Regions from separate parts of the Homo sapiens genome. Here all the other regions are linked to region 3. Evidence: promoter capture Hi-C in human tissues and cell types (Jung and others, 2019). All regions are on one chromosome and are shown on one strand. Each heading gives the region's core, a stretch centred on a gene start or on the middle of the fragment in contact. The rest is flanking DNA. Distances are from core to core; before and after follow the strand shown. Region 1 has its middle 20 kb from the start of PAFAH1B2. Region 2 overlaps RNF214 (ring finger protein 214). Region 3 holds the start of SIDT2 (SID1 transmembrane family member 2).

Region 1 (2,700 bases), core at 46-2,545, 54 kb after region 3:
GTCCCAAGTAGCTGGGACTACAGGCGCATGCCACCATGCCCAGCTAATTTTTGTATTTTTAGTAGAGATGATGTTTCACCGTGTTGGCCAGGCTGGTCTTGAACTACTGATATCAAGAGATCCGCCTGCCTTGGCCTCCCAAAGTGCTGGGATTACAGGCGTGAGCCACAGCACCTGATCCAAGAAACAGCTCTTTCAATGTCTAGACGAGACTTGTCTTTTCCACGTGCCCTGGATTTTCAGCTAAGGGGTCGAACTAGAGTTGCGTTTGAGTAACAATGACCACACCTCATTCTGATGACCAAGGCACTGGCTCTTGAAAAAGGCTATCATGCTTGGCTCCTTATTTCTCTAGAAGGAAGACTCTCAAATGAAGTGCCCAGCCTTCCTGCCAATAAACTTCCTTAGACCCATCCCACCAGCTAGCCAGACACACCTAGCCATACCTGAGTCATCTTCAACAGACAAGATGAGAGCTCTGATCCAACCCTGTGCAGCCATGTGCTATCTTAAAGGTTTTTCATGTTTGTAAACTTTATTTATCCTATAGGATCATAAGACACTTGAGATCCGAGGCCATGTTTTCCACTTCTTTTATATCTGTAACATTAGTGTAGCCCCAGAACTATCCTACCGTGAAGCAAAACAAACCTAAGTAACCCTTTATAATTTAAAAAGTACTTTTGTAAGTATTGTCTCATTTAGTTTTTATAACAACTTTATTAGTTAGGTTATTATTATCTTCACCTTGCAGATGAGATCATTCAAGCTGTCCAAGGTCACCAACCACTTGGTTGCGGAGCTGAGCCTTGAATCACCATTAACTCACTCAATGTTCAGGTCTCTTTCCATTACTCCACTGCTGTCAGCTTCAGGAACCAGCTATAATGCTTATACTCTAAAGCTAGCTGCTACCTTCCCTCTCTTCCCTCCTCATCTCCCAGATCTCAGCAGGAAATGTGAAAGACGACTGAGAACAATTCATTTTTATTTCTTTTCTTTTTTTTTTTTTTAAGACGGAGTCTCACTCTGCTGCCCAGGCTGGAGAGCAATGGCATGATCTCTGCTCATTGCAACCTCTACCTCCTGGGTTCAACAATTCTCCTGCCTCAGCCTCCCCAGTAGCTGGGATTATAGGTGCCCACCACCATGCCCAGCCAATTTTTATATTTTTAGTGGAGACGGGGTTTTGCCATTTTGGCCAGGCTGCTCTCGAACTCCTGACCTCAGGTGATCCACCTGCCGTGGCCTCCCAAAGTGCTGGGATTACAGGCATAAGCCACTGCGCCCAGCCAATTCATTTTTATTTCATCCTCATTCTTTCCTTTTTCAACTTGCCCTCTTGTATGTGGTGCCTTTTCCTGCTTGTACCTGAGATTGTCTTATGGTCTAAATATTTGTGACATCCCATGCCACCCAAAATTCATATATTGAAGCCTTAACCCTCAATGTAATGGTATAAGGAGATGGGGCTTTTCTTGGAGAGGTACTTAGGTTTAGATGAGGTCTTGAGAGTGGGGCCTTTATGATGTGATTAGTGTCCTTATAAGAAGAAGAGGAGAAACAAGAGCTCTTTTTCTCTGCCATGTGAAGATACAGCAAGATGCCTGTTGAGGGCCATCTGCAAGTCAGCAAGAAGGCCCTCACCAGGTAACTGAATTGGCCAGAACCATGACCTTGGACATCCCAGCTTCCAGAACTGTGAGAAATAAATTCCTGTTGTTTAAGTCCCCCCGTCTGTTGTATTTTGTTTTGGCCACCTCAGCTGACTAAGGCCTTGTTGCCCCTTCTTTTTTTTGCCTTGACTCCCAGATCTTTAGCCTGTCATAGTCAAAAAAAGGAGAGGATTCCTTGTTGCTGCTTTGATCATCTGGTTTCTAGGCATTTTTTTCCCACTTCCTTCTGGAAGGAAACAGTATAAAGGTAAGAGTGCTGAATTCATAAAGAGAAAGTTAGCTGATATAACTTCAGATTCCAACTCTGCTCTTTTTTGTGTGAGCTCAGAGAAGTCCTTTAATATCTGCAGCCTTCAGACTGGTAGTTTCATCTCTCTGAGGCTGTTTTCTCATCTGCAACGTAAAGGGATTGCAAAACATGATCCAGAACCTTTTCAGGTATAAAATGTTCTGGTTTTATTATTTTTATTTATTATCATCCTCATTATTATTATTATTATTTGAGATGGAGTCTCACTGTGTCACCAGGCTGCAGTGCAGTGCTGCCATCTCGGCTCACTGCAACCTCCACCTCTTGGGTTCAGGCAATTCTCCTGCCTCAGCCTCTCAAGTAGCTGGGATTACAGACACACCACCACACCCAGCTAATTTTTTTTGTATTTTTTAGTAGAGACAGGATTTCACCATGTTGGCCAGGCTGGTCTTGAACTCCTGACCTCAGGTGATCCACCTGCCTCTGCCCCCCAAACTGCTGGGGTTACAAGTGTGAGCTACCGCGCCCGGCCATGATTTTATTGTTTTTAATTGACATCCTGGGTTCCTCCTCTCTTGCTTTCAGTCTCTTAGCTACCTAACATCCCTCCTTATCAGCCACCAATTCATGTATTCAGTCTGTCTGTCTTCCTAAGTTTTGGTCGTATATTTCATATTCTCAGATACTAAAGCTAGGCACCCTAAAATACACAAAGCCTCCCTGGGAAAGGAAATTTTTGCTACAGAATCAGCTACAGCACAATATTGTCTT
Region 2 (2,700 bases), core at 201-2,700, 63 kb before region 3:
GTATTTTTAGGAGAGATGGGGTTTTGCCATGTTGGCCAGGCTGGTCTTGAACTCCTGACTTCAGGTGATACCCCTGCCTTGGCCTCTCAAAGTGCTGAGATTACAGGTGTGAGCCACTGCACCCGGCCTCACTGCCTTTTTAAAAGCATGTGGACCTCACTACCACCCAAAAGATAGAGCCAAACAAAACTCAACCCTGGGCCTCTTCTGGCCCAGTAACTTGCTGGGTTTCCATTCGTTCCTGTTTCATCTACTTGACTGTTACAATTAAGTCCCAAGTTGCTAGTCTCTATTTTAAAACTTTTCTTGGCTTCATCTGGTTAATGTACACCAGTAACTTTTTTCCGTATGCCCTTCAATTTCTTCAACTTGCACCAAATATCCACTCTCTTATCTGGTTGCTACAAGCACTTTCCCTTTTTATACCACTCTTTATAAATTAACATATCTTACCCTAAAGACCTCTTCCTGGGGTGCCTTTCCCAGCATTACCTTCCCTTTAAAAAGTGTACATTTAGATATCCATATACTTAAAGGTGGAAGTTTTAGCCACAAAAGGCCAGGGATGGATCAAAGGGAGCATTTTAACAAAGGTAAGTGTGACGTTCTCTTCAAAAGCCAACTATCTGGGGATAAAATTAAAAAGACACAAGTAAATAATACATGAAAAAAAGACTGGATGGAATTTGACTAAAAGCTTAACAGTATGAAAAAACTGCCAAAATAAGTCAATGTAAGCTTAAGAAATAGTGTCTAGAATGAGAGATACTGAGAGATCCCACTGTATTATAAAGTAATTATACTGTATCTGTACTATTATATATGGTTCTCAAGATCACTTTTTAAAACAAATATTGATAAAATAGAACATGTCTAAGTGAAAGTAACCAGAATGATGATAAAGAAATGGAAAATAGTATCAAAATAGTATCAAAAAGAATACTAAAAACATCTGAGGATGTTTCACCTGGAAAGGTTTGAACTTGGGGAGTAAGAGAATAAGAGCAGGAGGCATAAAAAAACTTCAAATATACACATGGCTAACAAGCAGGAAAGGAACTGGATTTATTCCATAAAGCTCAAGAGAAAGCTACAATAAGAACTTTTTTTTTTTTTTTTTGAGACAGATTCTCACTCTGTCACCAGGCTGGAGTGCAGTGGTGCAATCTCAGCTTACTGCAACCTCTACCTCCCGGGTTCAAGCAATTCTCCTGCCTCACCCTCCTGAGTAGCTAGGACTAGAGGCATGCGCCACCACACCCAGCTAATTTTTGTATTTTTAGTAGAGATGGGGTTTCACCATATTGGCCAGGATGGGCTCAATCTCTTGACCTCGTGATCTACCCGCCTCGGCCTCCCAAAGTGCTAGGATTACAAGCATGAGCCACTGTGCCCGGCCTAAAGCAAGAAGCTCACTGCCACCTCAGCCTCCTGGGTTCAAGCAATTCTTCTACCTCAACCTCCCAAGTAGCTGGGATTACAGGCTAATTTTTGTTTTTTTGTTGTTGTTTGTTTGTTTTTGAGAGAGTCTCACTCTGTCACCCAGGCTGGAGTGCAGTGGTACGATCTCGGGTCACTGCAATCTCTGCCTCCCAGGTTCAAGCTAATCTCATGCCTCAGCCACCCAAGTAGCTGGGATTACAGGCACACGCCACCACACCTGGCTAATTTTTTGTATTTTTAGTAGAGATGGGGTTTCGCCATGTTGCCCAGGCTGGTCTCGAACTCCTGCGCTCAGGCAATCTGCCTGCCTCAGCCTCCCAAAGCGCTAGGATTACAGACGTGAGCCACCGTGGCTGGTCTAAATTTTTGTATTTTTAGTAGGGACGAGGTTTCACCATGTTAGTCAGGCTGGTCTCAAACTCCTGACCTCAGGTGATCCACCCGCCTCAGCCTCTGAAAGTGCTAGGATTACAGGCGTGAGTCACCGCGCCCGGCCTGAAGCAAGAAGTTATAAGGTTTTTATCTTCATCTCAGAACAAAATCTAATAAGAGGTTTCATTTTTGTTTTTTGAGATGGAGCTTCTCTGTTGTCCAGGCTGGGGTGCAGTGGTGCAATCTTGGCTCACTGCAACCTCTGCCTCCTGGGTTCAAGCCATTCTCCTGCCTCAGCCTCCCGAGTAGCTGGGATTACAGGCACACACCACCACGCCCGGCTAATTTTTGTATTTTTAGTAGAGATGGGGTTTCACCACGTTGGCCAGCTTGGTCTCAAACTCTCAACCTCAGGTGATCCACCTGCCTTGGCCTCCCAAAGTGCTGGGATTACAGGCGTGAGCCACTGTGCCCGGCCTTTTTTTTTTTTTTTTTTTTTAATTTTTTTTGAGACAGGGTCTCACTCTGTCACCCAGGCTGCAGTACAATCGCACAATCACGGCTCACACAGCCTCGACCTCCTTGGCTCAGGTGAACAGGTGATCCTCCCACCTGTCTCCTGAGTAGCTAGGACTCCTGAGTAGCTAGGACTATAGGCATGCACCACCACACCTGGCTAATTTTTGTATTTTTTGTAGACATGGTGTTTCACTGTGTTGCCCAGGCTGGTCTCAAACTCCAGGGCTCAAGCGATCCACCCACTTCGGCTTCCCAAAATGTTAGGATTATGGGTGTGAGCCACTGTGCCTGGCCAATAAGAGCTATTTTTTTTTTTAAACGTAACTGGTTGCTTTGTGAGGTAGTAAGCTTCCCATCTTTGGAAGT
Region 3 (2,700 bases), core at 119-2,618:
GGTCTAGACTTCCCACACTAGCTGTGTCTATTTCAACTCAGGGACTCACAGCTGGTGAAGAAACCAAAGAGAAGTCAGGGTGAAGTGGATTTTTCACAGTGGACAAATTCCCCTTCTCTTCCCACCCAACTTGCAGTTGGCCTTATAAAACCTCTGTCACCCTCAATTTACAAGGCCAGCTGGCTCTCCCAGGCAGGAAGAGGGCTGGGAAGCCCTGCATTCATCTCCCTGGGGAGTCTGAGATGTAACTTGCCTGCACAGAGCTTTTCAGTTCTGGGCCAGTCTCATTCCCCTGAGGTTTTCTGGGCAAGCCCAGTAATAAGCCTGTTTCCTCTCCCACCGAGACCCCACAGAGCTGTCAGATTCTGGGGTTTAGGGTAGAGAGCAAGCCATGTGTGCTCAGACCACAACTGATGGAAGAATGGGGGCGGAAGAGAAGATGGGAATGAGCCAACTTCAAAAACTGCCCAGCTGGAGCTTCAGAGAAACATTGGTGGCAAAGGAAGGAGGACTGGTCAAGAGGCTCCAGTGTGGTTCTGGGAACTGGGAACCTAGCAGGACAGCTCGTTCCTGGGGCCTCCCAAAAGGGTAGCGGGGCGGCAGAATCGCCTAGCCCTCGTCGGCTTCCCCACTCGCCTCTGGCCCCTAAGCCCCCAGCCCTCACCCTGTTGCGGGTCACAGTATGGTTGAAGGTGTAGATGTTGACCAGCTCGCTGTTGACCTCGTCCACGTAGGTGCGCTCAAACTCGGCGTCTTTCTGCGAGACGTTCTTGGGCCCCAGAACCCCCAGATGGCTCTCGACCGAGGCCACCAAGAGCACCAAGAAGGGCAAGCCCAGAGCGAACATGGCCCCGGCAGGGCGGCAGTGGCAGCGGTGGTGGCGGCGGCGGCGGCGACAGGAGACAGGACACCTCCGGGACGGGTTGCGGCTGCGGCCGCAGCTTCCAGCATCTCACCAGGACCAGAACTTTAACCCCGGCCTGAGATTAGGAAATGTCCCCTCCCAAGAGCCCCGAAGAGGCTCCCAGGGTCCCCGCAGGGGAGGGGGCGGCCGGGAGGGGGCGGGGAGGGAGGGGATGCTGGCTACGGGAAGGGGTCCCAGCTCGCGAGGGGCTGAGTACGACCTGAGACCCTGGAGCCCCGGGCCAGGGCCGTGAGAAGGAGGGCGGCTGGTTGCCGGGAGCCTGGAGACGCCGGGAAAGGGGAGGGAGGAAGAGCCGGCGGCGGGGGCTGGCCGCGGAGGAAGGCGAGTCGCAGAGTGAGGGGCGTGATAGGTGGTAGCTACCCGACGCCGTGCTGGGCTGCGAGTTTTCCGAGGTGCGGGCCCTTTAAGGGCGGGCGGACGCGCCGTCCCGACGCACGAACACTGAAAAGTGAGCTGCGCCGCTGGGCGATAAACAGCAGGGCTGCTGGCCCGCCCGCTGACGTCAGGGGAAACTGACACAGATTTAAAGGACCAGGTCCCGCATTTGCCCTTAAAGGGGCTGCAGCTGTCTAGCTGAAGGGGAAAGCTTGCAATGCCTTCTCCAACTCCTACCCAACTCTCTCCCGTGATTTTCACCATCTCTGAAACTCACGTTGGAATAGGCAGATGTTTCTGTTAACAATCTCCAAGTGTTGGGTTCTTGCTGAACAACTCTTACATTTGCTCAAACATAAGGATTCCCCCACCCCCACCACCACCTTTACAACTAACATCGTCCAACCCTGGGCCACTTTTTCTCCGGGGATCTTAAAAAATGAAAAACTCGAAGGATTAGGAAACAGGACGGTGGCCCTACCGGCGGAGGGGAAACGGAGGCAGCACTGCAGGAGGAATCCCCATGCCTTTCCCACCTCCCTCTAGAGGGGCCACACAACTGCAGGGACGGCCTTCCGAGCTTTCCAAGCTTGCCGGGCTGTTTCCCCTCTTCTCTCAGAGACAGTTACAAAACTCATTGAAAGATACTGACCTTCAGTGTAAATTGGTGAAAACTTTTCTACAAAATATTTTGGCACTGTTTCAAGAAACTTAGAGAGCTTTATACCCTTTGATCCAGTAATTCCACTTCTGGACTCTATCCTAAGGAAATAGGAAGCACAGATAAAAATACCTGGGCAGCTACGCTTATCACTGTGATATTTATAATATAAAGCAAAAAGGAAATGACTTGGATATCCATAATGAGGGATTGGTTAAATGCACTATCATGAAGGCATCAAAAATGATGCTTAAGACTTCACAGGACACGTAAGCAGAGAATTCAGGATATGACACTAAATAAACAGTATATAGAGCCAGGTGCCGTGGCTCACACGTGTAATCCCAACACTTTGGGAGGCCAAGACAGGTAGATCACTTGAGGTCAGGAGTTCGAGACCAGCCATGGCCAACATGGTGAACCCCATCTCTACTATAAAAATACAAAATTAGTGGGGCGTGGTGACGCGTGCCTGTAATCCCAGCTACTGGGGAGGCTGAAGCAGGAGAATCGCTTAACTCTACCAGGCGGAGGTTGCAGTGAGCTGAGATCATGCTCCTGCACTCCAGCCTGGGCTGCAACAGAGCAAGACTCTGTCTCAAAAATAAATAAGTAAATAAAACCGTATATATTCCAAATGCATATAGACATGCATAGAAAAATAGAAAAAAATTGTACTAAACATTTAGCAATGTCTCCAGAAAGCAGGGCAAATTTTAAAAATAAAATTTAGCAGTAG

The links. Contacts are between HindIII fragments. The study calls those that stand out against the background at their distance.
Region 1: a contact is called between a fragment that was not itself captured here and the fragment with the promoter of SIDT2 in region 3, in 1 of the 25 tissues and cell types used here (liver).
Region 2: a contact is called between a fragment that was not itself captured here and the fragment with the promoter of SIDT2 in region 3, in 1 of the 25 tissues and cell types used here (liver).

What each region holds. Positions count from the first base shown.
Region 1 is chr11:117,123,376-117,126,075 of GRCh38, reverse strand. It overlaps the pseudogene LOC101060089. Among named protein-coding and RNA genes, the nearest start is that of PAFAH1B2, 20 kb to the left of the region's middle. The HindIII fragment of the contact is 5,925 bases long and covers 1-2,700 here.
Region 2 is chr11:117,239,999-117,242,698 of GRCh38, reverse strand. All of the region lies in intron 4 of RNF214 (ring finger protein 214), which reads right to left. Among named protein-coding and RNA genes, the nearest start is that of RNF214, 8.7 kb to the right of the region's middle. The HindIII fragment of the contact is 3,395 bases long and covers 1-2,700 here.
Region 3 is chr11:117,177,411-117,180,110 of GRCh38, reverse strand. It overlaps SIDT2 (SID1 transmembrane family member 2), which reads right to left and starts at 1,368. Exons shown (of 26, transcript NM_001040455.2): 1 at 665-1,368. The coding sequence starts at 847. It also overlaps a transcript of PAFAH1B2 not described here. RefSeq lists an enhancer at 10-79 and a silencer at 1,060-1,269. The HindIII fragment of the contact is 11,732 bases long and covers 1-1,700 here.